7 separate regions of the Homo sapiens genome follow, and regions 2, 3, 4, 5, 6 and 7 are each linked to region 1. Evidence: promoter capture Hi-C in 16 types of primary human blood cells and fetal thymus (Javierre and others, 2016). All regions are on one chromosome and are shown on one strand. The core of a region is centred on a gene start or on the middle of the fragment in contact, and the rest is flanking DNA. Distances in the headings are between cores, read along the strand shown.

Region 1 (4,152 bases), core at 1,653-4,152:
CTCTCTGTGCCTCAGTTTCCTTACCTGTATAATGGTAATACAAATAGTACCTACTTCATAGAGTTGTTGTGTTAAATAAGGTATTATGTGTAGACTTAGTACCTGGCACATGGTGTTAGCAGTTGCTATATTGCCTATATGCATTATATAGGCATATAATGTTGTAGGACTCTGGGGAAGAAGGATGTTCATTCTCATTTGGGTAGGAGCAGAGGCCTCATGGAGAATGGGATGTTTTAGCTGGGCCTTTGAGGGTCAGGTAGGATTGCTTCTGGTGGAAGGATGTTTAGGTAGATGGGACAGCAGTGCAGAAGGTGGGAGGTGAGACTGCCTGGGACCTAGATTAGGGAGACTGGTAAGAAGTGATTGAGGCCAAGCTGTGCTTGGCTTTGCCATGCCAGGGATGAAGTCGCAGGTATCAGCCAAGGTCACTGAGCAAAGGGGAAGTAGGATCAGGTTTGTGTGCTCTGTGGCAGCTGGCAGTATAGAAAGGGTTGACCAGAGGGGAGAGACTCCTGCAGAAGTGAGTGATAGACGGGCCCTGGCCTGTCTCCTGGCACAGGTGGTCCAGGAGGAACAGAGAGGAGATATTCAGAAGCCCAGGCCTCTGGCCCTATTTAGTATGGGCAGTAAAGGAGATGTTGCAGAGGATTGTGAGGGTGTGTGGACATGGGGCAGACAATCGAGATTTAGGACAGGTGGAGAAGCAGGGCTGGGAGGAGGAGGACCACTTGCTCTTGGCCTTGAGGAATTTCAGAAGTTGCATGTCCACATCTGGTGCTCAGAAAGATCTGGGCTGGATACCACATCCTTATTCCTGGAGTTGGCTGAAGCCACAGGAGTGTTGAGGAAGGGGGTGAGGTGGGGGTGGAGGGAGTTGAAGGGAAAGCCCAAAGAGATGACAGCCTGGCTGGGAATCTTGGGAAGCACCCACATCCACAGGTCCACACTGAGGCAGTATTTATGCTGGTTAACAGCTCCAGCTCCTGGCTATGTAGCCATGCATTCGTATGTAACCTCTCTGAGCCTGTTTCTTCACCTCTGAAACAGGATGATAAAAACAGTACCCACCTGTGAGGGTGAAACAGGATGATAAAAACAGTACCCACCTGTGAGGGAGGTGAGACAAATGAATACGGGTAAAGTACCAGCAACAGTGCTTGGCACACGATAAGTGCTGCACAGAGGCATTTACTGTTATTATAATCACCATCATAGCCATCTCCCTGGGCCCAGGCTGCTTGTAGTCGAAGTTCACCACCTTTGCAAGGGTAATGGCAGGCAGCCTCAGCACCAGGACCCAGCAGTCGGGCTGTATTTGCAGAAGTCCGCAGGTGGGGAGCTGGAGGAATCACTTTAGGTCCTTAGTAGAGATAGGCCTGGCCCTGGCTACCTCCTGACCTCACCGAATCGGCCTAGTCCGAGGGTTCAGAACACCACTTCCGCTCCGCGCTGGGTCCCTTCCCACCCTGGCACGGTTCCCTGCCACCTTCCGGGGATTGGCTTTGGACTGGAGACTCTGGACGGATAAGCCACCAGGACTGCAAGACGGGGATTCTGGGCTGGCGCGCAGCTGTCTGGACTCTGGGCTCTTGGACGAAGGGGTGGGGAACCAAGCCAGGACCCAGGACATCAATGCCTCCGCCAAATCGAGCAGCTGCCAGTCTGGCGTCGCTTCAGTCCTAAGATGCGCCACCCCTAGAACCCTCCCCGGCCTCCTCCGCCCTGCTAGGCCCCACCCTTGAGGAGCCTCTGCTCAGATTTACCTCTGAGTCCTCCCCTGAACCCTGCCTTCAGCCTTTCTGGGCAGCCGCGCGGCGGCGGCGCGCCCAGTCCTTGTGTCCGAAGACTCGGAGTAAAGCGGGTTCAGCCAGAGAGCGGCCCTGCGTCCGCCCTCCTCTCGAACCCGGGTCTGCGCACGTCGAGCCCCCTCTCTGCGTTGAGGGTGGCCCCGACCAGCACGCCTCGGGCCCAATCCACCCACCCTCCGGGACAAACGCGCCTTCCCCCAGGCTCCTACGGCCGCGCCCTCGCTCCTGCGCATCCTTAGACCCGGCGCCCCTGCCGTCCCAGCTCCCAGTTCGCAAACGTGCGCCCGGGTTCCCCCTCTGGAAGCGGCCAGGTGTGGCGTTTAGCTCTTTGCCACGGGTGCGGGTGCGACCAACCCCCAAGCAGGCTCAAACGCGCCCTTTCCCGGGTCAGGCCGGGCGGGGCCGGTTACGCGCGCGCCCCCTGCCGTAGTCGTCCTCGCCCCCAAATTTGGATGTGTCCCCAGGCATCTGCCTCCTCACCGGGCCAGCATGCCCTCTCGCCCCCAAGTAGGACTCAGCCCGGCTTCTCGCAGTCCTCTCGCTAGGGCGAGGGTCTTTTCCTCCGAGGTCCCCCAACCCTCTGGTCCCCGCGCAGGAACGCCCACCCCCGTTGTGCCCGCGTCTGCGTTCCCGACGTTTCCCTGAACAGGAAACACCTGACCAGGGCCTGAATAGGCCCCCTCGCCCTCGGCCCGTACACCCCGCGGCCCGCTACCCCATCCCGCCGCGCCCAGGCCGACGCCGCTCGCCCCTGACCCGGATCAGCGAGTCCAGCGCCGGGCGGTCCAGACACGTGAAGTTCTGCAACAGCTCCCACTTGTCGCGCTGGAAGCTGCGGCTGGAGTCCTGCGCCGCGCGGCCCTCCAGCGTCCAGAACACGCCGGTGCCCAGCGCCAGGTAAGCCAGGTAGGCGAGCAGCAGGAGCACGGTGCTGGGCACCGCGCAGCCCCGGACCCTGCCCTCGGGAGCCGCCCGGGCTCGCGGTCGGTACATAGCGGGAGAGGCGGGGAGCCGGCGCCGGGAGCGGTGGACTAGGACCCGGTGGGAGGGAAGGGCCAGGCGTCCAGCTCGTATCTCCTCTCGCAAACGCCTGCTGGTGCCCGGTTTCGCCGGGGAGGAGGAGTGTTGGGGAATGGGACAGCCTGGCCCCACCCAGCCCTGGGATCCAATCCCCGGGACAAAAAGAGGCTCTGAACTGTGGGCATCTGGCCCCGCCTCAAATGTGTGCGGGGTGCCCACCTGCTAGGCCTAGGCCAGGGAGAAGGAGGAAGCTGCTGGGTGACCGCAGGCGCTGAGGGAAGGGGCCCAGAGCCCCCTCACATTTCCTGAAATGAACAATGGGAGGGACTTCTGGAAACCGCACTCAGAGGTAGGAGATAGTAGAGACCAACTTTATTGTCTTGGGGCCCCTGCCTAAGTTCTTGGACTCGGGGGCTATCTCCAAGGACTTGCTGTCTGTCAATCTCAAGACCACCTTGGGTCTCCCACACCTCTGTCCTTTCCTTTGTACCCCAAAAGAGGGACCCCAGCTGATTGCCACTTGTCCATGAGCTTGGGAGGTAAGAGGAGCCTTAACCAAGAGGCTTGTCCACTCCTTGCTTCTGAGAAGGCCCCCGAAATCCCTCTACCTGGAGTGGAGGAAGCGTCTAGGCTGTGTGAAGAGTCCGTGGGTCCTCAGCTTCCCAGTCCTTTCTTGGATATGGGGAAGTCCTGGGGTGTGACTTGGACTCCTCTTGCTGCTGTAGAGCCTCTCCTGGGTCTCCTGCCTGGAGCCGCCTTGGCTCCACAGCCTTGCCTCAGACCTGTGCAGAGGAACCCAGCCACATAGGAGCCCACTTGCTGTTGGATGATGGGAGAGGCAAAGGCCAAAATTTCCAGGCCCCGGGATGGAGTGGTCTAAATCTCTCCTGGTCAGGGATGTTGCAGTCTGGCAGGGGAAAGGCCAGACCTGGAGAATGCATTCCTGAGAGAGGCCAGACGTTCATGGAGCTCACTTTCTGGAAGGATCCTGGGATCTGCTGGCTCTCTGGCTTCCCATGGGGTGTTTGGAAAGGCTCTTGAGAAGGCAGGAGCCCAGAGGGAGTGATGAAGTTAAGGGGGTGGCCTGTGAGGGTCAGGGGAGGCCATGTTCAGGAAAGTGGGTAGGACACCCAAGAGGTCCTAAGCTTTGTTCACAGACAGCCCTGGACTTCTAGGCAAGGGGAGCTGGCGAGCTTTGAGAGGCAGCTCGCCTGCCCCTCGGCTGAGAGCTTCCTGAGGGCAGAGATCCTCTTTTCACTAAGATTGTTCCAAAGTCTCTGCCCAGGTCTCCCCTCTCTTTGATGCTCCCTGCCAGCCATTC
Region 2 (4,273 bases), core at 400-2,899, 400 kb before region 1:
ATCTCCTTGTTAAACAGAACTTTTATTAAAAATTAACTCATGTATACTTACAATTAAACAAATTGGATTTAAAATAAAGGCAATAAATGCTCAAACTCATCCCTTCTTAGTTTTACTCTTTTTTTTTTTCTTTTTCTTTGAGACAGAGTTTTGCTCTGTTGCCCAGGTTGGAGTGCAATGGCGTGATCTCTGTTCACTGCAACCTCTGCCTCCCAGGTTCAAGGAATTCTCCTGCCTCAGCCTCCCAAGTAACTGGGATTACAGGCATGCGCCACCATGCCCAGCTTGTTTTGTATTTTTAGTAGAGACAGGGTTTTGCCATGTTGGCCAGGCTGGTTTCGAACTGACCTCAGGTGATCCACCCGCCTTGGCCTCCCAAAGTTCTGGGATTACAGGGGTGAGCCACCGTACCCGGCCTACTCTATTTTCTTATATCAATGTTCTTGAGGTTATTTACTTCTGTCTGTATGGTAGGAATATTACATAACAGTGTGGTACTGAGAATCTTTTGGTAGCCTGAAATCAGCCATGGTGGGAGTGTTTACACTACAGAAATTGGACAATATACAGATGAGGGCTTCCCCTTTTCCCAGTGACCCAGATTTAAATATTTACCAACATCCCACTACCTAGAACCCGTTGGAATGTGAGCAATTCAGTTAACCAGTTCTTTTTCTCTACGGTGCTAAAAGTTGCAAAGTCCATTACATAAGTTTTCACAGTTATTTTCATTTTTATAACAAAGAGAACCACAAAAATGTTAATATATTTTCTATTTCATTTGCCACCTCAGCTGCAATATGATTCAAAGGCAAAAAATGATAGCTACAAACTGTTTACAAAGCCACAGAGAGCATAAATTTGTCAAATAAGTTTCTTGGCCAAACTAATCTTATTCAATAGGACATTGTGACTTTCCCTTAAATGTAGCTACGTGATATTCTTCGGTCAGAGCTATTTTCTTTGCCTTCCTGTTGAAACTCAGAAATATGGTCAATATTGTTGCTTTTAAGACATGTATATTTTTAAAGCTTTTGTCTACAATTTTGTGTTTGTTATATTACATGTACAGTGCCTAATAAATAGTAAACATTGAATAAATATTTGATGAAGGCATATACCTGTACTCAGTAAAGGTATATATGTGTGTATTTGTAAAGGTCTTGATAAACTAATGGAGGCAAGTGAATCTGTTGCTAAACTCTCTCAGGATCTTGCAGTCAAGGAGAAGGAGTTGGCAGTGGCTTCCATAAAAGCAGACGAAGTGAGTTTGCATTTATTTTATCACTGATGAGGAATATTTTTCCATATTAAAATGCATTGTTTTAAAATGGTACTAAAGAACAAGCAGGGTATAAACCCATGGACAATTCCTGATAAGATAGTGTTCACAAAGACCATTAGACATTTTTGTTTAACTTATACCAGCGTATACCTGAACTATTAATTTTGCTACTTGGCCTAAGACTATTATTTCTTCTCTCACTCTGTCTGTCTCTCTTGTTCTTTTTCATCTGTTTATGAAATTTCTGCTTGACTATGAGTTATATTTGGTCTTCTGTTTAAGGTCCCTGTATGTTCCAGGTTTCTGGGATGGCCCAAATCGAGGAAGAGTTGGTAGAGTTTTTTTTTTTAAAAGAAAGAAAGAGGAAAAATCCATACTCCTCTCAAGGAGATAGGTATATATGTGTGCTGCTTTTTCTCTTTTTTTTTTTTTTTTTTTTTTTTTTGAGACAGAGTCTTGCTCTGTTGCCCAGGCTGGAGTGCAGTGGCGTGATCTCGGCTCACTGCAACCTCCACCTCCTGGGTTCAAGCGATTCTCCTGCCTAATTTTTGTATTTTTAGTAGAGACGGGGTTTCACCATGTTGGCCAGGATGGTCTCAATCTCTTGACTTTGTGATCCGCCTGCCTCGGCCTCCCAAAGTGCTGGGATTACAGGCATGAGCCATGGTGCCCGGCCTATGTGCTGCTTTTTTATCTATTATACAGCCTTCTAGTCTCAGACTTTCAGCTTCCAGTCACCAAGAGTCAGTTAAGAATAGATACTTCAGTCTTGATCCTTAGCCAGTTGCTGAAATGAGTGAACTAACATAGGGGAGGCACTTAAGCATAGTCCTGGCATATATGGTAAGCACTCAATAAACATTAGCTTCTTTTATTGTTATTATACAAGGCTTAAAATGGTTTTTTGCCCTTATTCTATGATACTTACTTGAATTGTTTTAATTTTCTAGAAATTTGTAGAGTGAAAATACTATTTCTTCTGAAAGCTTTAAATATTTATTTATATATATATTCTAAGCCTAAGAAAAGCTTAGAAAATGGAAGACTGCGAGGAACTGCTCAAAGGAATTTACTTTAATATACCTTAAAATATAGACAACTTAGGAAATAAGTTTGTTCTTATTCGTGTTTTATATTATGTTGAATAAATATTTGCTCACTATTCAGATCTATAAATTTTGCTTGAAAGGTTTCTATTGGCTTTCATGTGTTTCCTCAACTTAACAGGTATTAGCAGAAGTCACAGTAAGCGCTCAGGCTTCAGCCAAAATTAAAAATGAAGTACAGGAGGTAAAGGACAAAGCCCAAAAAATTGTGGATGAAATTGATAGTGAAAAAGTGAAAGCTGAAAGCAAGCTTGAGGCAGCTAAACCTGCACTGGAAGAAGCAGAAGCAGCCCTGAATGTGAGCAGTGCATTGTTACCCCTTCCAACACAAGTCCTAGAAGGCTTCATGTTTCATTACATGAAATTAACTCATCAGAAAACTGAATTGAATTCTTAATGTGATTGATAATCTCTGAGTCTGGAAACAAATGTGTCAATTAATTCAGTTTTCTAAGTTCTAATTTTTTTAAAGTCTTCCCCTCTTATATTATTTTCATCCCACAAATTGGTCTTCCATGAGAACTGAGAAATAATGCTAGTGGTTAGTGGCCTAAACTGTGAGAAATTCAGATTACGCAGAGAGCCTGCTCAGTTTCTCCAGCATCCCTTCCAGATTATGTCATGCTCCCTTTTAAAATCTTCCTGTGGTTCCCACTGCTCTTAGGATAAAGTCCTGAGCTAGACATCCACAGCTGTGAGGCAAAAGGGGCACAGCTTTGGAGGCAGGCAGACCTGCATTCAACCTCTATATATAATACACACACACACACACATACACACACACACACATACATACACATATATGTGCATGTATATATATGTGGATATATACACACATATATACACACGTGTATATACTTACACACTGCTAATACACACACATATAAGTATGTATGTACATATAGATGATCTGGAGTAAATTTGCTTAACTTTCTTGGGTTTCTATGGGGATTATAATTTCTCATTGATCCTTAAAGAATCAATGTGAGCATTAAAATTAATTAATACAAAATGCTAGGCACATAGAAAGCACTCAATAAATATTAGTGCTTCTGTTCCTGCTGATGACCTGGCTCCTGTCTGTCTCTTCAACTTTATCTCTTGTCATTTTGTCCCTACACACAATGCGATCCAGTCATACAGAAAAATGTATAGGATTCTGGAAGAATGGTCAGGATCTGTTACCTTTAAACGTGCCTCCACCTCTGCTGGGAATGCTTTTCCTAACTTTCATTGCCTAATTAGAGTCATTCTTTAAATCTGGGCCCAGACCTCACTCCTCCCAGGAAGTTTTCAGTTCTTCTTCGAGGCCTTCCTTTGTTTTCCTATCACTCACATGCTTCTGTCATGGCAGAAATCCTTATGTAGGGTAATTGTATTTGCTTTGCCATTTTCAGAGGTTATGAGGACAAGACTATTTTGGTTTGCTTTGTTTTATATGGGAGAATGCCTGCAATTGTTAAATGAATGAATAAATCTATGATAATCATTTAATAAAATTTTCACAATGACCAGGACACATTCTGCACCCCCACTTCCTTTATGGGTCTTACTGTAACGTACAAAAGGAAGAGATCACCGAACCGAAGGAGTCTTAGAACATGTTATTGATCATATGGTCTCCCAGTCCTTGCCTTGATGGTCAGGCAATGTCTTAATCCAAACCCAGCCAATGGATAGAAATTTTCAAAAATGTTTTTATGAGCCATATATTACAGTAATTTTCTTGTCTCCTTCTAATTCCTCTCCCTGCCATAGACAGGGAAGCCCTCACAATGAAGGCTAAAGGTGAGGTTTCTGATATTCAGGGCTTTGTATCCTCTCTTAATATCCACACCTAATATAGACCCTGTGCTTTGAAGATGCAAGTTATCTAAATGTT
Region 3 (3,999 bases), core at 1,097-3,596, 260 kb before region 1:
TGTGTGTCTATATGTGCAGGAGAGATAGTGTGCATGTGAGAGTGTCTGTGTGTTCCTCTGTGTGTGTGTGTTGGGGACAGTGTCTCAGCATGCGACTGTGTACCTGGCAGTCTGTGAGTGATTGTGTGTGGTGGGAGAGAGTCTGTGTCAGTGTCTCAGTATTGGGAATGTGCTTGGGGGCGTGTGTGATGATGCGTGTGACCGTGTGTCCACGTGGGGGTTTTTGTGACTGTAAGAACATGTGTGTAGTATTCCTTTTCCTGTCCTTTCGTTCAGATATCTAAAGCCCTTAGGGAAAAAAAATGGATTGTAAGCTCTGAGCTTTTGAAAAAAAAGAAAGAAAGAAAGAAAAACAAGGGGCGGTCAAAGAGACAGGGGTCTGTTGATGGAAGGGGTGATTTGACTTCTGGGAGGTGACACAGAGGAAGGAGGTTGGGGTCCTGGGAGGAGATGCCAGGGAACCTGAAGGGCTGGACTTAGTTGGGGGACTCCAGAAATTTGAGTTGGAATCCCTCCTTCCTCCTTCTGAGAGGCCTTCCTGCATGTCTCCCACCTCTGTGCCACCTCCTTCCCGTCACCAAAATGGTCCCCAGAGAAAGAAAGAATCTGATACACTTATTCGCACTGAGAAATAGGAGTGCCTTTCAGATTGGCAGCCAGTGTTTGGAGAGGGAGCCCCTTCCTGGGGTGTTGGAAAGCCCACCACCCCGGGGGCTTCCACTCCACCTGCTTCCTTCTCTGCTGTCCTTCCTTCCAACGCTGCCTGCTTGTACAGGGCTTGAGAAGTCACAAAGATTTTCACCTGCTTTATCTTGTTGGATCTGTGCAGTTTGAGAAGAATGATATGCCCATTTTATGGACGGCAGAACTGGCAACTGATGAGGAAACTGAGGTCCTAAAAGATAAATCGTGTCCCACAGTCCTGCATTAACAGAGCTGGGATTTAGACCAAGAACTTATAAATCGCTGTCCAGTGCTCCTTCCTGTAGACCACACCACTCCCTCCTGGTGTCCTCTTTCCTGTCTCCTGCTTCCTCCAAAAACTCCTGAATCTGAGGGATGCCCCTTCCTTCTTGTAACCTCCAACCCAGGTGTCGTCTCCACGTGCCTTCATCCACCTCAGAGAGATCCCATGAAGCCTGTCAAGTCTTGATTCTAGAAACTGCCATCCTGCCCTTCCCATGGCCCTTTAGACCCCCTCTGACCGCTGCTTTGCTCTCCTGGTCAGCTCTGCTGCCTTGTGAGGGACAGGGACATCTGGATTGCATCCTTCCCGCTACCCAGAACCCACAGCCCCACCTTGTCAGGCTTGCAGCAGGGACTTATGTTGTGGGAGGATGAAATGGAGGAGTGGGGGACACTGGTGGGCAGGGCCTTGCCCCTCCTCACAGGGCATGGGGTCCAAAGCTTCCTCCCTGCTTCACTTTGCCATTGGCTGTGGTTACTGCTGGAAGATCTCACAAATTAAGCAGAATGATTGGTCATTGGACATGAACATATATTCATTTCCTCTTTCTGGGAATATGTTGATCCTAGAAGTGAGGAAGGGGTGGGGCCCCAGTCCCCAGGAAGCCTGGTCACTCCCTCCCACTCTGCCCTTTCCACTAAACAGTAGAAATCATGGGGATTGCTGCCATTGACTGAGCCTTCTCCATGTGCCCACCATCCTAAGCATTAACTCAGTCCCCACAGCCATCCCATGGGGGAGGGGCTGCTGTTCCCTTTTGCACAAGTGTAAGCTGAGCCTAAAACATACAACTCTTGCACTCGGTTGCAAACCTAATATCTGGGTGACCCAGGTCCAGGCCCAGATCTGAGCCCAAGGCCAGGGTTGTTCAGCCTCCACTATGTTACCTGGGCACCCAGGCCCTATGGCACTGGGTGGCCCTAGCCTCATTTACTCAGTCTTTCCCCAGACCAGAACCTCCCATCTGTCCCAGGGCCCACCACCACTCTCTCCCTGCCCCAAAAAATCCTCCTGATAACAGTCCACAGCTCTCCTCTGCTCTCCGGAGCACTGATGTCCCCACCTTTGTACCTTTTCCCTGCTGTGCCCTCCTGCTGAAGTGCCCGCCCTCCTCCTTGCTAGCCCAGTCTGCCTCCAACCCCCTTCACCCCAGCCCCACCTCACAGTCCCCAATCCCTCAGGCCTCTTGAGTCTGCACTGAACCCTGCCCCAACCACTCCCTGAACACTTTCACCCACTGCCTTCCCTGTTATGTCACTTGTCCTGTAAAGCATTGACCCCCGAGTAGCCTGAAGACTCTCTCAGGCAGGGCTCCTGCAGTCACCTTTATACTCCCTGCATTCCCCTCCACCCACGACCACCCAGAACCTGGCACAGTTATGGTTTCTGTAAATACGAGGCGTGGGAGAGGCCAGAAGTCTGGGTAGTTTGCACTGTGTGTGCCTGCAGGGGTGGGATGAAGGCTCGAAGGTATTTAGAAGCCCTGATCTGGTGTAGGGAGGGGACAAGATACTCTTACTGTCAGGAATCCCTCACCTAAGGGGGAGCCACAGCCCCATCCTCAGGAAGCTCCAGTCTGAGGGGAGACACAGCCCCGTCCTCAGGGAGCCCCAGTCTGAATATAGTTTTATGTCCACAGCTCTGCTCAGAGTAGGTGACAGCGCTGCCCTGGGGTGCAGGAGGCCAGATTGGCCTTCATGGCGCTGTCGTTAACCCCTCCCCCCGCCTCTGGGAAGAACTGGCTTCCATACCTCTCTGCCTGCCCCAGACACACCTTCTGCCCCAGTTCCCAGCAGTGACCTTGTGTGTGGTCTGCTTTCATTCTAGAAACAGAAACCAAGGGGGATTTCTCCGTCTCTCTGCCCTCCACCCCCAGCAGCTGCTGCATTTAGGGGCAGCATGGAAGAGCCCTTTACCCGGAGAAGAGGGAAGAAGTGAGAAGGGAAACGGGGCGGTGGGGGTTGATCCACCAGGACTTGCTCTGATGAAAACTGTGCCACCTCCTCAGCTGTGGCTAATATCATGGACAACACCTTTGCAGCTGTTATGTTTGATTTCTTGTTCTTTTTTTCCCCAAGCAAATACAGTTGACCTTTGCCCTCAGAAGAGCTCTGTCCTTCAGGGTAGCCCCTGCCGCCTTGGCACACTTATGCCAAGGATGCTGCTGGGGCTTAAAGTGAGCTGGGCCCTTCCATGGGGCCTCCGAGGCAGCAAGGGGTGAGCAAGGCAACCCAAGTCTCTCAGGGAGGTGTGTGATAAGCCAGCTAGAACCCGAGACTGGATCCAGCATGTGCCCAGCACGCTACAAGGCAAGGGGGCAAGCTTCTAAAAAGAAGCTATTTTAATTTCAGCACACGTGGACATTTTTGTGATTTCAAAAAGCAAAATGTTGTTTTAAATTATGTATGGGTCCTACATTTTATACATGGGGCTCTTGGGTCATTTCAGCATCTGCAGCCTCTGAAGGACGAATATTTATAATTTTTAAGGCTGTTCAGGAAAAAACTAAAAAGAACGACAACCCCAAGACATAGCTGAAGGAAGTGCACAAAAACACTCAGAAGGAATGGTGGATTCTCAGTGGGATGGGTCTGTTTGGGTCTGTGTGCTGAAAAGCCATTTCGGTGACCTCACTGGAAGTGGAGGCTCAGCTCTCCCTACTCACAGGTGAGAGGGATCCCTCCCATTGCACGTGTGACTTCAGTGTTCTGGAACCTCCCTGACCCCTTCACCTCATGTCCTCAGGACTCTTCCTTTGGGTGGATAGAAGCTGGGTTGAATATTAGATTTGGTTGCTGTGTCAGAGGGGAGCACGGGGAGGGGGTGGGGGGTGCTGTGTTGAGTGCATCTGTAAGTGAGTGCGTTTTGGAGGAGGAATGCTAATGGCAGACATCCCAGCTCTTTGTAGCCCTGAACGCCACTACTCTCCCCGGCCCCCGCACACCTTGCGATATTCTACCATGGTCACTGATCTGAAGGACTCCAGATTCTAGCCTTAACTCTGCTTCCTGGGGGGGCTGTGCACCCTTGAT
Region 4 (3,960 bases), core at 715-3,214, 360 kb before region 1:
ATTAAGTTTGTGCTCATCTGTGATAGGAAACCTTGCCATTCCTCTTACTTAGATGTGGAAAAGTAGGAATTAACTTGTTGCCCTTTTGCTAATTAAATGTATGTTTTTACTTACTCAGATAGGATAAAAATTGAACACGTTTAGTTTATTTCGCCTAACTTGTATTCATTTTTAGGTCTTGGTGCCCAGACCGTACTGTTTTTCAAGCAAGAAAGTATATTGCAGATTCTTTGGAGGAGAAGTACACAGAACCAGTTATCTTAAATCTGGAGAAAACTTGGGAAGAAAGTGATACCCGGACACCTCTGATATGCTTCCTGTCCATGGGATCTGACCCCACCAATCAAATTGATGCATTGGCCAAGAAACTGAAACTGGGTAAGACTAGCAATCTACAAAATGTAGCAACACTTCCATATTTTTTTGCCCCAAATTTTGCCTTTCGTAATTTTATAACTGATTCTTAGAAATAGATGTAAAACTGAATTCGAAAAATATTAAACTTATTCCTCTTTCATCCTTTCATACCTCCTAAAGTGAGGGTATGATATAGGTATCTTTGTTTAGAGAAGAACATGCTCATCTAGCATATAGTGTTTTTTTTTTGATTGGTTGTGTTTTAAGTTCTAAGGAGATAGCTGTATTGCATGGATAGCTGACTAACAAGAATGAACACACAATAGCCAAAGTTTATGTTATTGCCATGTCTATATAAAATTACAGCAAAGTTTATTTTGTCACAAATTAAAAAACTATAACCATTATTGTAATGCATAGTAGTTAGGGATTAATTATTTCATTGCTTTCACTTAATAACCATTCAGTACAGGCAGTGTGCTAGATCTGGGGAGCACAGAGATGAATACAACACAGCTGGGAAAGACAGACACGTAAACATGTAATTGAAGGCAATGTGACAACTGCAGTAAATGTTTCATAGAAGTGGCTGATCACAGGATTCAGAGCTACTCGGATTGCCTGGGGTATAGGGGAAAACATCACATTGATGATATTTGAGTAGGAAATTAAAAAATAGATAAAATTTACCAGGTGGGGTGGTGGGAGATAGAAAGTTACTCCAGGGAGAGGAGATGGGAAAGAAGTTATAAACACAGAAGTGTTTATAAGTGTGACTGAGTCAGTAGGATTAAAGGACAGGGATGCAGAGCACATCTTGACAGGACTGAGCCATCCTGTAAGAAGGACTTTCTTGACAGGACTGAGCCATCCTGTAAGAAGGACTGTTTATCCCTTGCTTCATTCATACTCTGAAAATCGGAATGCTGTTGACATTGGCATTTGCAATCTTCTAGGGTCAGGTATCTGTAACTATACCTTGTAGGGTTAATCCAATCATGTCTTTTGAGTATTACAGTGATTGATTATGAATCACTAAATCTATCCTGTGAAGTAAAATTACATTAAATTTATTACATAGTCGACATAAGCATGATATAAAATCAATTCAGTCATGTCCACGTACTAGCCACATGTCCCTCTGCATAAAACCAAGCTACGGTAGCATGGTCCATGTTCATGTTCTCTTTTCTCATCTTGACTTCACTCTATTTGTTGTCACCACACTGTTCTATATTCTCAGTGGATCAGTGTTCAAATGGCCACGGTCTTCTGTCTGAACACTGATACCAATGCAAAGAGCTCCCAGGTTCTATTGGCAACTGCTCATGGTTAAGTCTCATTCGCTATCTTCAAAGTAGGCAGTTTTGCTCTAGTATTTACTGCAGCACACCAGCCGTCTGAGTTTATCTCAGAGTGATGCCTCTCGAGTAGCCTTATAGTTTGCAAATCTCTCTCAAATCTGTTGCTCTATGAGTGTTTATCCAGCTGCCTCTAAGCCTCACTTCTCTCTGCACACAGGTATATTTTTTCTCTCTTAACACTTACCATTCTTCTCCACATGGCAGAACATGTGGCTTCTAGTGGCTCATGGGCTTCACTGCTTACGTGCTCAGAATGTTCAGCACCCTCAGGGAAACTCCTCTTATTGTCATGGTTCCAAGTTCCAATATCCAGGGAAGTAACTCATTGTCTTTGCTTTGGTCATGCACTCCTTTCTGGGCCAATCAATGAACTGTCGCTCTGGAGATAGGTTCCTAGTAGAAACCTTATGTACAGAGCTGGAATGGGGGACATTTCTTAGAAGATACAACGCCTAGAAGAAGGAGTATTCAACTAGAGTTACCATTTCAAATGTTGTAATTTGAGAACATAATTAAAAAATTCAAGGTCTCCTTTGGGAGAAATTATAACTGACATTAAATGAATGCAGAAGGGCAGACTTGTGTTATATCCTTTAGTGTTATCATACTGCTTTGCTTGGCAATTTGGTGGTTTCCGTTTCTTGGTCCTACCTTACTTTTTCCAACAACAATCCAGGCTTCTATTGATTACTTTATTAGGGTACTGGAACAACATAGATTTGGCTTTAACACTGAAGGATCAAATGAATTTTATAAACAATTCTACTGCCAAATCATTTGAGCAGTATTAGGAAGTCTCAGGCTGCTTGCTGCTTTGGGTTGAAAGTCCCAAAGATAGCTGTTAAAATGGAACTATTACACATACCGAACAACATGTTAATGTAGTCTCAGCTATTAATATTTTATTTGAAAATCTGGATAATAAATAATCATAGAATGCTTCAGGTGAATGTGACTGGAAATCTTGAAATCCAATTACTTTTTTTTTTTTTTTTAACAGTTGGGGGAAACTATGGTCTGGAGATAAGGCCCCAGACCTAGTCCGTGGCAGATCTGGTTCAGAACTTATCTCAGGAACCCCACTTCAGTGATCTCATTGGTCTTTCTTTTTCATTCCTTCTCATTGTTTTCATTGAATGAATTAACCAGCTACCCGAAAATAACATACGGATGGGACAGAATCAATAAGTTTTTGTAGAAAAAGAGGAGAAGGGAAACTTTGGTTATAGATATTGTCTTGTACTGGTCAAGATCTGTAGTGAGAAATTTGGAGCAGATAAACTCTGCACAGAGTACTGGGTACATGGGCAAAGTGGAGAAAGCAGATGGGTTTAGCACGAGAGCCTTTCTAGGAGCCTGACTACTGGAGGAGGGAGGTCTCAGAGGAAGGATGGGCTTAAAAAGAACACCTAAAAACAAACGAAAGAGAACAAATACATAAAACCCCACAACCACACAAAAGTAGTAGTGGGAAAACTGATATAACAATATGTACAGATGAAACATTTTAACATTTTAAATAATAAGAGAATGGCTCATAATTATAGTAATAAATTACAGGCCGGGCGCGGTGGCTCACGCCTGTAATCCCAGCACTTTGGGAGGCCGAGACGGGCGGATCACGAGGTCAGGAGATCGAGACCATCCTGGCTAACACGGTGAAACCCCGTCTCTACTAAAAATACAAAAATTAGCCGGGCATGGTGGCGCGCGCCTGTAGTCCCAGCTACACGGGAGGCTGAGGCAGGAGAATGGCGTGAACCCGGGAGGCGGAGCTTGCAGTGAGTCGAGATCGCGCCACTGCACTCCAGCCTGGGCGACAGAGCGAAACTCCGTCTCAAAAAAAAAAAAAAAAAAAAAAAAAATAAATTACAGCATCTCATTAAAATTGGCAAATTTATAGAAACATATGAATTTAGAAAATTTCCTCAGAAAAGGTAGAAAACCCTGAATAAACCAATAATCAAGGGGAGAAAAAGTAGAAGTTTTAAAATTATTACATCAGCAAAGGCTCTAGGCTTGGATAATTTTCTGATAAGTCCTTTAAAACTTTCAAGGACTCTCATATGCTATATTCTGTTCCAAAAGATGGAAAAAGAGAATACATTTTCCTTTTTCTTTTGAGACAGGCTCCCACTCTGTCACCCAGGCTGGAGTGCAGTGGTGCAATCATGGCTCACTAAAGCCTTGACCTCCCAGGCTCAAGTGATCCTCCTACCTCAGCCTTCCAAGTAGCTGG
Region 5 (4,116 bases), core at 677-3,176, 420 kb before region 1:
GGAAAAATATAATTCCATTAAACTGAATTTCAAAAATTTTTTTTTTTTACCAGTTCAGAAGTTCAAAAACCTAAGTGGTGAAGCTATAAAGAAAAGCAAGTTACTGATTATATTAAAGAGAGGTGGCGACCTCTGGAGAAGGGAGGAATTGTGAACAAGGATGAACGTACAAGGGCTTCTAATGTGCTGGGCAAGGTTGTAGTTTTCAATCTGGTGGTCTGTACATGAGCGTTTGTTATTTGTTAAGCTATTTGACATACTCTTCAGTATGACTGACACATTTAAACAAATACGGAAAACAAACCAACCAGAAACTGAGCCTCAGAGAAGTGAGATAACTGCCCAATCAAGGCCTTTTAGCTAGTGCTTGGCAGATGGGTGTTGCTAATCCCTATCTCATGCTTCTTATAACATGGTTGTCCCACAGGAAGGTGGAAATCTAGAATATAGGATTTCAGGAAGCAAACGGACTTTACAGGCACTTAGCACAACCAACCATGATTTGGAGGAAAATTTCATGTTTCCCCAGGGCAATTCTTCAATTAGTGTGAACAAACTCCAGTTTCTTTAGTCTCCACTCTTCATCAACCTGTTCTGCATCTCTGAGCAGATATTCATATTCCTCTGAGAATACCATGCTCAGAACTGAACACACTCTGCAGTGTGTAGTCTCACTGGAGTGAAGCAGAGTAAATCTTTCTTCGGTCTAAATCAAAGACATTCTGAGACTTTGAGAACAGTCTCTAAACCTACACCCCAGTCTTTCTGAGAGTCATAATGATGGTCAGACCATCACTTTGCTGGGTGTTCCCTAGGAATGTTGCATGTCTAGCCCAGGCCAGAGTGGTGACTGACTGTAGGCTGGAAAAAGTGGTCCTGATTCCAGTTCTGCCAATACCAGTCCATGTGACCTTGAACAATCGGCTTCACCTGTCTGGGCCTGGTCTCCTTCTCTGTAAGATGAGGGAGTACTCTCTAAGCTCACATATGCTTCAGGGTGAATGCTGATGTACAGACTCTAGGGCCAGGTTGCTTGGGTTCACATCTCAGATTTGTCTGCATGCAAGCTGTGTAACTTTGAGCAAGTTACTAAGCTCATGTTAAAATGGGACTAGTAATAATAATACCTACCTTGTATTTTTTTCTTGTAGGGTGCTGGGTGGGGGATTAAATGAGTCAATACATATAAAACACTTATCACTGCGTACTAAGCTTGGCTGGATCCACTACTGACTCCCAGTCTTAGCTGATCCCTTGAGAGAAATTCTGAACAACACCCAGCTTAGTCAGCCTTGTAATGATTTGTTTACTGGGATAAACATATACTTGGAAATCTTTTGGTAAGCTTATACCTTCAATCTTGCTTATCTTTCAGGAATTATTGGATGTGGATACTTTGATCCTTGTAGAAGTTTCAAGCCTCAAATATGTGAGATGATTGTGAATTTAGTCTCAGTGGGTAGAGTGCTGTGGCAATGGACTAAGGTACAGAATGGTTTGTCAATAATTTTTAAAAAGGCAACTATTATTCAGCCCTAGATCACACCTCGTGGCTCATTAAGTTATCATAATATCATATATAGTGGTGTTTTTTGGAAAAGACAAATTACGTGCTCAAATAGATTTACAACACCTTTTCCTTCCAGGGAGCAAATGATCTGACTAAATGATGCTTTCCGTATGTATGAGATGTTACTGTAAACCAGACATGACATCCAAGACAAAGTAGAATTTTGCTGAAATGAGAACACTGCATTTCCACTTGTTACTCTGATTTGTAAATCTTTATTTGTATTATCTGTCTCCTTCTACCAAACTATGTCAGACACTCAGATGCTTATTGACTGACTTAATACATGGATTTCCAGATATTCTCAGCCAACTAGGACTTGAAGTCTAACTTGTGTATTTCTCTGAGCAGGAGCGTGAGTTAGTAAATGGATGGAAATGTTCTTAACAAAAATTGGCTAGATTTGCATACACAAGTCAGTGTCCTAAGTAAAGCTCAGCAAACCTGCAGCTGTCCCCAGATGACTTAGGGCAGTACTCATGAAAAGGCAATTAAGTGTAGGTATGAGATAAAAATGAGGTTGATATATTTGACAAAAAGCCATGAAGGAGATAAGGATTAGTTGTCGTAATTCACTACACATCCATTAGGCCAATTATACACATGTGGGCACGCACTTGTCTCCTGGGAAACCTGAGTGTGCCAGCCTTTCAGATTCCTGGGTAGACTGGGGGATTTCTAGATACACAATTATTGGAAGAGGAATTTGGGGGTTTCTTATGAGATGCTCTTCCATGTGGCCACCTTCAGTGATGAGTGTGGGGCCCTGTTCCTTGCCAACACAGGGCCTTTGCACATGCCATTGCACCTCTTTTAAAGAAACTCAGAAATGAGTTGCAAGGACTGAGCGTCTGAGATAGTTTTCCGTGGTAAGATACATGTGGTTTCCAATAGGATTATTGCTCAATTTACTGTGCTTATATACATAGTTCTCTGAAAAGCTTTGCCCTTGCAGCTGTCTTCCATCAGTTTCTTTTGGTATTTGGATGTTTCCTGGCTCCATTTCCTCAGTGTCTTTTCTTTACCTCTTTAATCCATTCTGCACAAGCTTTCATTCCCACTGTTCATGTCAAGGCCACCAAAGACCTTGATCTTGCCACATCTCAAGGTTAATTTTCCTCTCCCTCTTACTTGACTTTTTAGCAGCATTTGACCTAAATGATCCTTTAGCAGCATTTGACCTAAATGATCCCTCTAAATATTTTCTTCACTTGGCTTCAGAGGGTCCCCATAGTCTTGATTTTCTTCCTAGTGCACTGGCTACCTCATTAAAGTCCCCCTTCTTCTTTCCCTCCTCTAAACACTGAAATGCACCTGGTCTCGATGCCAGGCCCTCTTCTCTATCTACATTCTTTCCCTAGGTGGCCTCATCAAGCTTCAAGGCTCTAAACATCATCCCTGTGCTGATGACTTCAAAATGGATATCTCCATCCCAGGCCTCTCTACCTGGCTCCAGGCCGATTGCTAACTACTTAATAGACATCAGTGTTTGATGTCTGATACTCATCTCAAAGTTACCATGTCCAAACAGAACTCCTAAATGTCTTTAAATACAATCCTCTCTCAGACTTCTGCATCTTAGTAGCAGCACCAGTTATCCTGCTTCTTAGGTTAAAATTACTGGGCACCATCCTTGATTTATGTCTTCCTCATGGCCTACATCGAGTCCATCAGTGAATCTCAGTGACCTCCCCTTCAAAATCTACCCCAAAGCTGAACCTTCCTCACCATCCCCCCGTGACCACCCTGATAAGTGGTCCGATCACCTGTCCCCTGGACCATGCAGTAACTTCCTAACCAATCTCCTTGCTTTCTTCTTGCTCTCTTGGAGTCTGTTCTTTTCACAGTCCTAGATGATATTTTTTAAAAAGTAAAGCAGAAATCTTTACTCCTTCTTAAAACCACCAGTAGACTCCCAGTTCCACTTACAATGTCAGCAGACTCCGCTTACTTCCCTTGCCTGCCACCAACCTGCTCCAGCCGATGGCCCTGCTCACCATTCCTTGAGTACCCCAGGTTTATTGCGTTGCTGGGCCACCATACGTTGGCTCATTCTCATCACTCTTACCTTCAGAGCGACTGTTCCAATCATCCTCTAAAGTGACTGCACTTGTCCCTATCCTAGTCATTATCTGTCTCCTGGCCCTGGTTTTTTTTAAACCATGGCTTCTATCATTATTTGCATATTTACATATATATTTGTTCCCTGTTCATTCTCAGGCTCTCCCCACTGGAATAAAAGCCCGCTTGATGGCAGCAGAGTTAGCTGTCCTCTGTTTACCACTGTGTCTTCTTAAGAACCAAGGAGGTGCTCAGTCATTGAAAAATGAATGAATCTTCCTCCTCTGCCCACCTCTACATAAGCAGCCTTCTTTGTATCTTTTCTTCAAATCTCCCATCTTCACAAAGCACTCTTTTGATCCATTCATGCCTTGTCTATCAGCCCACCTTTGTATTACTTTATATAGCTTTAAGGCAGAAGCAGTTCAGAAAAGAAAGAAGGTGATGAAAAGTAGAGGGAAATATTAGAAGAGAAGGAAAGAAGC
Region 6 (3,854 bases), core at 59-2,558, 470 kb before region 1:
CAGGGAAATTATGAGTTGTATTCAGGCATCAGACCGTACCCAGAAAAAACCCCATTCTACATGTGAATCACTCTGTCCTAGATCAGAAGAAGTTTGAAGATCCTAGTCAACAAGTGCCACTCACCAGCAAATGTCACTGCACCACATTGAAACTGCTTGCCCTTGCTACACACTGCAGTCGGCTTCTTGCTCTAACTGTAGGTAGTTGGGGTTTTTACCCAGTAGCCTCCCATTGCTTCCTCCATGGCATCCATTCTATTTCTTGTCCTCCTTTGTTGTGCTCAGCTTTCTGGACCCCTTGTATTCTCATAAACACTTCAGCAAGCCCTGATGATCAGAAAACAGGAGCCCTGCTATATGGGGGTAGCAACCCTGGGTCTCTAGCTCTGCAGAATCTAGTTGTAGTACCTGGTGTAATTCTCTCTCTGTGGGTGGGAAGAGCACACCTGTAAGTGAACATCAGACTTCAAGCTTGACTCTGGCTGTGCGGTCATCTTCTCCAGGTGAACCTGGTGATACCTAACCCTCTCCTGATCTTTAGGGATCTGATTTGTCCTGTCCCTTTAGAGATAGTCTGTCTCTTGCTGGATGAAACCTTCAAGACCATTCATAAAAGGAAAATCCCTGGATAGTGTTCTCTTTTCCTAGATTCAGTAGTTCCACAGACCAGTAACAGTGTCTCACATGTTACTCTCACAAGCAGACCCCACTTGGATTTGGTTCACAGACTTTTTGGAAAACCATCTTATTCCTTGCTTGGCATTTACTCCCAGAAGCAACCAGCACAGTTCCTTTGCTGGACCTATGCACCATAAAACTAGGCCCATTCTCCTATTCTATGACTGACACATGGGAACAATAAGTAAAATCACTGCAGTTATATGAGTTTTATTCATGAAAAGCAACAGTTTTTATTAGCTGTATGATATCTATTAGGAACTGCCCTTTAAGGACAAAACATTCATTCCCAAAGTAATATTTCTTCTGGAATTTACTTCGGTAAGGCCATACTATTTTCTGAATCTTCTTTGAAATGTGATTTTTTCCGTTCTTACCTTTTAGATACAATGCTCCATTTAAAAAAAATATCCAGAATTGGGTGTATAAATTGTCCACTTCCTCAGATATAATTGAAGAGTGGCTCGTAGTACAGAACCTTTGGGTTTATCTTGAAGCCGTCTTTGTAGGTGGAGATATTGCCAAACAGCTGCCTCAGGTAAATATGGCTTTTGTAATTACTGATAAAATAATTTGGTGTATGTTGTCTATATGTCTCTGTAAAAGTCTTCACAAAGACATATGGTCAAGGCTTGACTATGATGGGGTTTGGCAAACTATGGCCCACTTGCCTGTTTTTGTAAATAAAGTTTTATTGGAACACAACCACATCCATTCTTTTATATATTGTCTGTGGCTGCTGTAGCACCACAACAGCAGAGTTGAGTAGTTATAACTGAGATTATACGGCCCAAAAAGTCTAAAATCTTTACTATCTGGCCCTTCACAGAAAAAGTTTTTTAGGAAGTGCTGACCTCTGATTAGCAGAAAGAAGAAACTTACATAGTTTTAAACAGTGAATAATCTCGAGGTTGTTTGAGGATGTGAGGTACATTCAAATGCAGTACTATTATAGTAGTTCATGTCTTCTAAGAGTTAACCTCATAATATTCCTCTGAGAATAATATTAAAATTAATCTATATTCTGTAAGCACAGATCAACTTTAGTTAATTATTACTAAGTCTACTACTAGCAGATCAGAACATGCTGTGGAGCAAGAAAACAGCCTTGGGAGGCTGTAACAAAACCTTTAAAACAGCTCTATTGGGGCCTTTTAAATAAATGCCAATAACTGTAATAACTGATAGGTTTAGTCGATGAAGGTAACTTTGCTATTAGAAAATTAAGCCTGATCTTCCTAAACTTCTGTATTTACAAGCAAGATCTATATAGGTTAAAAATCAAGGATAAAAGAGGTTTTTTTTTTGCTTTTTTTTTTTTTGAAAATGGCCGATTTCCTTTGTACTAATAGCACATTTTTAAAACATTAAACTGAAATGTATCATTTTTGTTTTTTAATCAGAAGTCTGTATTTTTAAAAGAGGAAAGATTATGCCAATTGCTAGAGGCATTTTTGCAGCTAAGTACAAAGCTTAATATCATTCATAGTAAATAGAAAATTTTCACTTGCGAAAATGTAAATGAAACTTTGTTTTGTGGCTTTACTGTCTTTTTTCTTTTTTTCCCCGCCTTGGGGTACTATTGAGCTGTAATTATTCCAAGGATCCTGAGATCAAATTATTTTCATGCTTCTTCAGTTTGCTCCTCAAACCAAAACACCTGGGGTGCTGAAACACTAGATTGGAACTTTAAGTTGATAGCTCTGCAAATTAATCATGTGGTACTTTGAAAAACATGTTAAATGCAATGAAACAAATAAGCAATAAGCCTCATTGTGATAAAGAAGCATTTTAATATGCAGTTTTATAACTTTGGGTTTGTGTCGCTCAGAATTAATTCAAATGAAAAAAAATTGTCTGTTTAAATTATGCAGCCTGAGACTAATAGAGGCTGGTTTGAAGAACTATAGAAAATTCCAAGGTGAAGACTTTGCTTTTTTTCAATTATCCAAATGCTAATCTTTACTGGCTATGGATGCATTTTCAGGAAGCAAAACGTTTTCAGAATATTGACAAGTCTTGGATAAAAATAATGCAGCGAGCTCATGAGAATCCCAATGTGATTAATTGCTGTGTTGGAGATGAAACCATGGGACAACTTTTACCTCATTTACATGAGCAGTTGGAAGTATGTCAGAAGTCACTCACAGGGTAAGAGTTTAATTTTTAAATCACATATCATTTTGTATGTGACAGTGTTTTATCCCAAACTTACTAGTATTGACTACATTTCTGGTTTGGTAGTGATGGTTAAAGTGGGGCTAGGAACTTAAAATTTCACATAGATTGAACTTTTCTGTGAGGAAGACACCTTTGACTTGGGGGTGGTTAAGGCATTGTATTAGTTTCGTCAGGCTGCTATAACAAATTTCCACAGACAGTTGGCTTAAAGCAACAGAAATTCATTCTCACAGTTGTGGAGACAAGAAGTCTGAAATCAAGGTGTTGGCTCCCTCTGAAGGCTCTAAGAGAGGATCCTCCCTTGCCTCTTTTGGCTTCTGGTGGCTCTAGGAGTTTCTTGGTTCATGCCTTCATAACTCCAATCTCTGTCTCTGTCTTCACTTGGCCTTCTTCTCCTCTTCCTGTGTGTCTCTTATGACGACATTTGTCACTGGATTCAGGGCTCTTCAAGATCCTTAACTTCACTCCCTCTGCAAAAGCCCTTTTTCCAAATAAGGTCATGCTTCAGGATTTCAGGGAATAGGACCTGGACATGTCTTTTTGAGGGCTAAAATTCAAGCCACTGCAGGCGTAGAATAGAAATGTGCACTAAGAGAACAACTCACCAAACTCAAATATCATTTTTATTTTATTTTATTTTTACTGTCACAAGAGGATGGTGTCAGGATAATTTTTTTAAGGCAGTTCATTTTCAATCTCTATTTGAAATAGGGTGATAATACATCCTGGTTTGTCCAAGTTTATGCGTCTGTCCTGGCTTAATGGTTAGTTGTCCTCCCTTTCACTCTCAAAATGTGTTGGTTTGGAGATACGGTTTGTGCTCCCCCTGGGTTTAAGCCATGAGCTTTCCAGCAGTCTCAGAAAGGTCATAGGAGGGCATCTGATGAGAAAGGAGAGGACAGCAGATGATGGGGCAGCCTTGCTCTGAATCTCTTGTTTTCCCAAGTGTCATCCATGGTGGAGCATGGACTTTGGTTTTCACCAAACATTGCAGG
Region 7 (4,159 bases), core at 1,568-4,067, 380 kb before region 1:
CAGACAACATTATTTTCTTATGTGGATAAGCACATGTACAAACACATGCAAATGAAAAACAAAGCATAGTTTTTATGCCCAGGGCTGTGGTCAACCTTGGCAGCTTTGCCAAGGCTACCTTCAATGCCATCTCCAGGACCTACAGCTCTGACTTGTGGAAAGAGGATGTATTTACCAAGTCTCCCTATCAGGAATTCACTGGTCACCTTGTAAAGACCCAATACCAGTCTTTGCGCAGGTGAACCAGGCTCTGGGGGTGGCTACCAAATAGTGTTTCACAAGAAAAATCCAGTGAAATAAACCTGAAATTGGGATTCCAAAATACTATTTCAAGTTTCTAAAAGACATTGAAGATGACTGAAGATAATTATCTCCTTACTTGGGAAAGATATCACAAAAATAGAATTTACCCCTTGAGAAATAAAGCAAGATATAAGCAAATTTAGTCTTACTGGTGCTTTTCTTCACCTTGTTTATTAAGTTCATTAAAGTTCTTTGTTTAGATTCTTTTTCCTTATTAACTTACAGGAAGGTCTTTACAGCACATTATTTGTATAAAGAAAGCTATTCATCCAGGGAAACAACTTCCTTCATGTGCAGAATTTTTTTTTAGTTATTTCCTTTTTAATCAAAACAGGACAAAAGTAGGCTGATTTAATTGTTATATTTCATATCTTCTTTTTATCATAGTAATTGAGAGATACATATTTAATTCCATTCTCCTAATCGCCTGTTGTCCCAGTGGATTCTTCCTTGCATCTTATGGTCTGCACCCACAATAGCCTAAGGCATTAGTTGAATTCAGAAGATAGGATACAAAAAGTTGAGAAATGAGCCTTTGGGAATCTTCACAGTTAGGCAGGGGGAGGGATCCTAGGTGAAGTAAGGGTTCAAATCCAATTGGCTCATGCAGAGATGAACCACTACAGTGTGTCTATTTTAACTAATAACAAACGCATTAATCTAAACACGAAGACCCAACCAGGAATTCAGAATTGCAGTTTTAAAAAAATGTAAGCATATATAAAGTGAATGTCTAGTCTTTTAGGTTGACTTTACGGAAAGTGTTAAATTCTTCCCAGTGCCAATAGGAGACAGAATACATGGATAGACCCTCAGTGCGACTCAATATATCATTTCTGACATTCTTATGTTTACTTTTTATCACTTACTCATCTTGTAGGGGTCCTGAGAAAATAAATGAATATCCAGATATGCAAGTTGCTTTGCTTTCTCTGAGCGATTATAGCTATGTAAGTTTGAAAGGATTAATCCTTGACTATTCTCTTCCATCTGTCAGGAGCAGAACTCTGACATTGCATCTGAGCAATGCCCCTTAACCCTCCTCTTTTGATCATAGAGACCCCATTACACATCTAGACCCCATTCAACAAAATCATGACTCACCAAGTTTTAGAAATTAATTTTTGTATGTTACTTTAATTTTTTTAAGTAAGTCTTCTTCTATTGCCCTTAAAATTCTTGATTACCTGTCCAACAAATCTCTCGGTTTCCCTTAGCAATGGGCACATTCTTTGTAACACAGATAGACCAATGAGTTCTTTCTGTTTAGGTGACATCTCTGAACCATAAATATTTTCGCACACACTTGGAGGACAGCCTTTCCTTGGGCCGACCCCTTCTCATTGAGGACATTCATGAAGAGCTGGATCCAGCCTTGGATAATGTATTAGAAAAGAATTTTATTAAATCTGGCACCACTTTCAAGGTGAGCTTTGTAAAAAAAAAAAAAAAGAAAGAAAGAAAGAAAAGAAAAAGAAAAAAAGAAAAAAATTAAGAAAGAGAAAGAAAGAAAAGAACAATGGTGACATCTACTTATCTTATTGAGCATAGCAGCAAATGCAATTTCCTTTAGGCAGTAGTATTTGGTACGTCGGAAATAAACTATTTCCAGACTGATACTTCAGTGTTTCCTTTTATTTTTTATAGCGTATAAAAGTTTCTGAGGTGGGGGCAATATTTTGATAAGAGTAGTCGTTTAGCTAAAACTAAGTAACATTAAGGAAACACATTGTCTGGTCTTAATATGTTAGTGCAACACACAGTATATATATGTTTAAGCAACTCTAGATATTGGTTTTGCAAGCCTTATATATATACATTTTTACAAAATAACCCGGATTTCTTCCCTGGAGAAAATGACATTTTAATAAAGTCATTGATTTGGTAAAGTCATTGATTTAATAAAGTCATTTTAATAAACACATTGATTTGGTCATTTATCTCTTTATTTTCAGTCTAAACTCATTGACTTTGTTGGAAGCTATGGAATATTGTTCTCAATTGTTGGTGATGAATTATTTTCAATTTGTATAAGTGTTTCATGTTTAATTTGTGTCATTCTCTACCTTTAGGCTTCTTAAGTTTTATAACAGCATTTCTGATTGGGTGTTTATTACTTTGGACAACTTAATTTCATGAGTATCAGTGAATAAGTAAAAATGAATATTTTCTCATTAAATAAAGACAGATTTATTCAGAAAAATTTTCTTCATAATGTGAAAATCTTTTATATGCCGCATTTTAAAAAATTCATTCAGCAAAGGTTTATGGAGCATCCAATATATACTTAAGCCTTTATGAGTTTATAGGGAGAAAAATAAATAAAACGCAGTTAGTGTTCTGAAGGTTAGCATCATTCTATAAGATTAGAGGGTAGAATTTCTCTTTTTCATAAAAAGAAGCTAAGAACAAAATTTTGGTGACTGGCTTGGATATTATGGACTCATCCACAATTTTGAACTGCATTTAAAAAGGTTTAATCCACAGGTAAAGATCGTATATATTTAAACTGTACAATGTGATGATTTGGTATACATATACGTTGTATAATGATTACCACAATCAAATTAATTAACACATCCATCACCACACATGCTGTACCTTAGATACCTGAAACTTGTTCATCTTATCACTGAAAGTTTGTACCCTTTGACCAACATCTCCCCATTTCTCCCATCCCCTATCTTGCTGGCAACCACTGTTCTATTCTCTGCTTCTATGAGTTTGACTTTTTTAGATTTCACATGTGAGATCATACAGTGTTTATCTGTGTCTGGCTTATCTTATATGACATATTTAATATGCCAAAGGAGGTTATAGAATCTCTATTCCCGAAGGTCTTTTAAAAGATCCTAGATTTTTATCTGCAATGTGAAGGCATAATGCCTTAGAATGTGATGGTGGCCTTAGTGATGTTTTCGGTCACGGGCAGAATTAAGATTAACCAGAGATTTAAGTCATTTAAAAATTCTATGATTGCCACCTGATTTTTAGATAGCAAAAACCAATTGTTTTTTCAACATGCTGCAAATAGTAGTGTTGAAGATAAATGTTACCTTTTTGAAAAAAGTTGGCGTTTTTCCTTTGAAAATTACATTAACTTTTTCTGTTGTCAAATATGCTTCAGATATACCTATGAAATTCAAAAAACAAAATTTCCTATAAACACATCAAATTTCCACAGTAGGAAACAATTTTCTTAACTGGAGAAAAAATAGCGGCTCCTGTACTACAAACAATTGATGGGAGTGATAAGTACTTGCTAAAATGTTAAAGTCAAATCTTAGATATGTCTAAGTTTTCCTTTATTCACCGTTTGTTTTGGATAACTTTTTCATTTGATTTGCTTGGTATCATTGCTAAAAACATCACCAGGCAGGACTACAATTCTAAATTATTCTAAATTGAATAGGCTTTATTATTTAAGATCAGTGATTAAAATTTTGTAACTTTCCTTCCCAATTTATTGAAGCGTCACAGCACTGACAGGTAAATTCTTTTCTAAATTGAACCCAAGTTCCTTTCCCTGCCCTTTAAGCTGTTTTTAATTTTATATGTGAATTTATGTAGGTGAAAGTCGGTGATAAGGAATGTGATATCATGGATACATTTAAACTTTACATTACTACGAAGTTACCAAATCCTGCCTTTACCCCAGAGATTAATGCTAAAACGTCAGTCATTGATTTCACTGTTACAATGAAAGGACTTGAGAATCAGTTACTAAGGAGAGTCATTCTAACAGAGAAACAGGTAATCTCTCTCTCAAGGTAAAGAATTTCTGCTTATAATACATGCTTAAAATGTATTGAGAAATTGCTAAGTATGTGAAAAAGAAAAAAAAATTTAAAAACCA

Evidence for each region. The method cuts DNA at HindIII sites, captures the fragments that hold promoters and counts their contacts. A CHiCAGO score of 5 or more calls a contact.
Region 2: a fragment that was not itself captured here is called in contact with the fragment with the promoter of KCNK17 in region 1 in 1 of 17 cell types (activated CD4 T cells); the score reaches 6.3 in activated CD4 T cells.
Region 3: a contact is called between a fragment that was not itself captured here and the fragment with the promoter of KCNK17 in region 1, in 1 of 17 cell types (activated CD4 T cells). The highest score is 5.6, in activated CD4 T cells.
Region 4: a contact is called between the fragment with the promoter of DNAH8-AS1 here and the fragment with the promoter of KCNK17 in region 1, in 2 of 17 cell types (activated CD4 T cells and naive CD8 T cells). The highest score is 6.4, in activated CD4 T cells.
Region 5: a contact is called between a fragment that was not itself captured here and the fragment with the promoter of KCNK17 in region 1, in 5 of 17 cell types (activated CD4 T cells, naive CD4 T cells, total CD8 T cells and 2 more). The highest score is 8.5, in activated CD4 T cells.
Region 6: a fragment that was not itself captured here is called in contact with the fragment with the promoter of KCNK17 in region 1 in 2 of 17 cell types (activated CD4 T cells and naive CD8 T cells); the score reaches 5.5 in activated CD4 T cells.
Region 7: a fragment that was not itself captured here is called in contact with the fragment with the promoter of KCNK17 in region 1 in 1 of 17 cell types (activated CD4 T cells); the score reaches 5.4 in activated CD4 T cells.

Annotation. Positions count from the first base shown.
Region 1 is chr6:39,311,517-39,315,668 of GRCh38, forward strand. KCNK17 (potassium two pore domain channel subfamily K member 17) reads right to left here and starts at 2,903. Exons shown (of 5, transcript NM_031460.4): 1 at 2,568-2,903. The coding sequence starts at 2,804. It overlaps LOC105375047 (a long non-coding RNA gene), which reads left to right and starts at 2,440. Exons shown (of 3, transcript XR_926774.3): 1 at 2,440-2,708. It also overlaps a transcript of KCNK16 not described here. The HindIII fragment of the contact is 16,119 bases long and covers 1-3,974 here.
Region 2 is chr6:38,912,689-38,916,961 of GRCh38, forward strand. It overlaps DNAH8 (dynein axonemal heavy chain 8), which reads left to right. Exons shown (of 93, transcript NM_001206927.2): 67 at 1,161-1,264; 68 at 2,513-2,689. All of the region lies in intron 4 of DNAH8-AS1 (DNAH8 antisense RNA 1), which reads right to left. Among named protein-coding and RNA genes, the nearest start is that of DNAH8-AS1, 38 kb to the right of the region's middle. The HindIII fragment of the contact is 1,240 bases long and covers 1,030-2,269 here.
Region 3 is chr6:39,051,936-39,055,934 of GRCh38, forward strand. All of the region lies in intron 1 of GLP1R (glucagon like peptide 1 receptor), which reads left to right. Among named protein-coding and RNA genes, the nearest start is that of GLP1R, 5.2 kb to the left of the region's middle. RefSeq lists enhancers at 2,166-2,667, 2,668-3,167. The HindIII fragment of the contact is 1,882 bases long and covers 1,406-3,287 here.
Region 4 is chr6:38,951,143-38,955,102 of GRCh38, forward strand. It overlaps DNAH8-AS1 (DNAH8 antisense RNA 1), which reads right to left and starts at 1,965. Exons shown (of 5, transcript NR_038401.1): 1 at 1,906-1,965. DNAH8 (dynein axonemal heavy chain 8) reads left to right here. Exons shown (of 93, transcript NM_001206927.2): 82 at 176-378. The HindIII fragment of the contact is 10,031 bases long and covers 1-3,960 here.
Region 5 is chr6:38,889,277-38,893,392 of GRCh38, forward strand. DNAH8 (dynein axonemal heavy chain 8) reads left to right here. Exons shown (of 93, transcript NM_001206927.2): 58 at 1,376-1,485. Among named protein-coding and RNA genes, the nearest start is that of DNAH8-AS1, 62 kb to the right of the region's middle. The HindIII fragment of the contact is 1,166 bases long and covers 1,344-2,509 here.
Region 6 is chr6:38,847,586-38,851,439 of GRCh38, forward strand. It overlaps DNAH8 (dynein axonemal heavy chain 8), which reads left to right. Exons shown (of 93, transcript NM_001206927.2): 37 at 1,063-1,216; 38 at 2,666-2,829. Among named protein-coding and RNA genes, the nearest start is that of DNAH8-AS1, 100 kb to the right of the region's middle. The HindIII fragment of the contact is 1,679 bases long and covers 470-2,148 here.
Region 7 is chr6:38,927,938-38,932,096 of GRCh38, forward strand. DNAH8 (dynein axonemal heavy chain 8) reads left to right here. Exons shown (of 93, transcript NM_001206927.2): 75 at 1,574-1,729; 76 at 3,874-4,056. The region is part of intron 2 of DNAH8-AS1 (DNAH8 antisense RNA 1); the gene reads right to left. Among named protein-coding and RNA genes, the nearest start is that of DNAH8-AS1, 23 kb to the right of the region's middle. The HindIII fragment of the contact is 6,462 bases long and covers 1-4,159 here.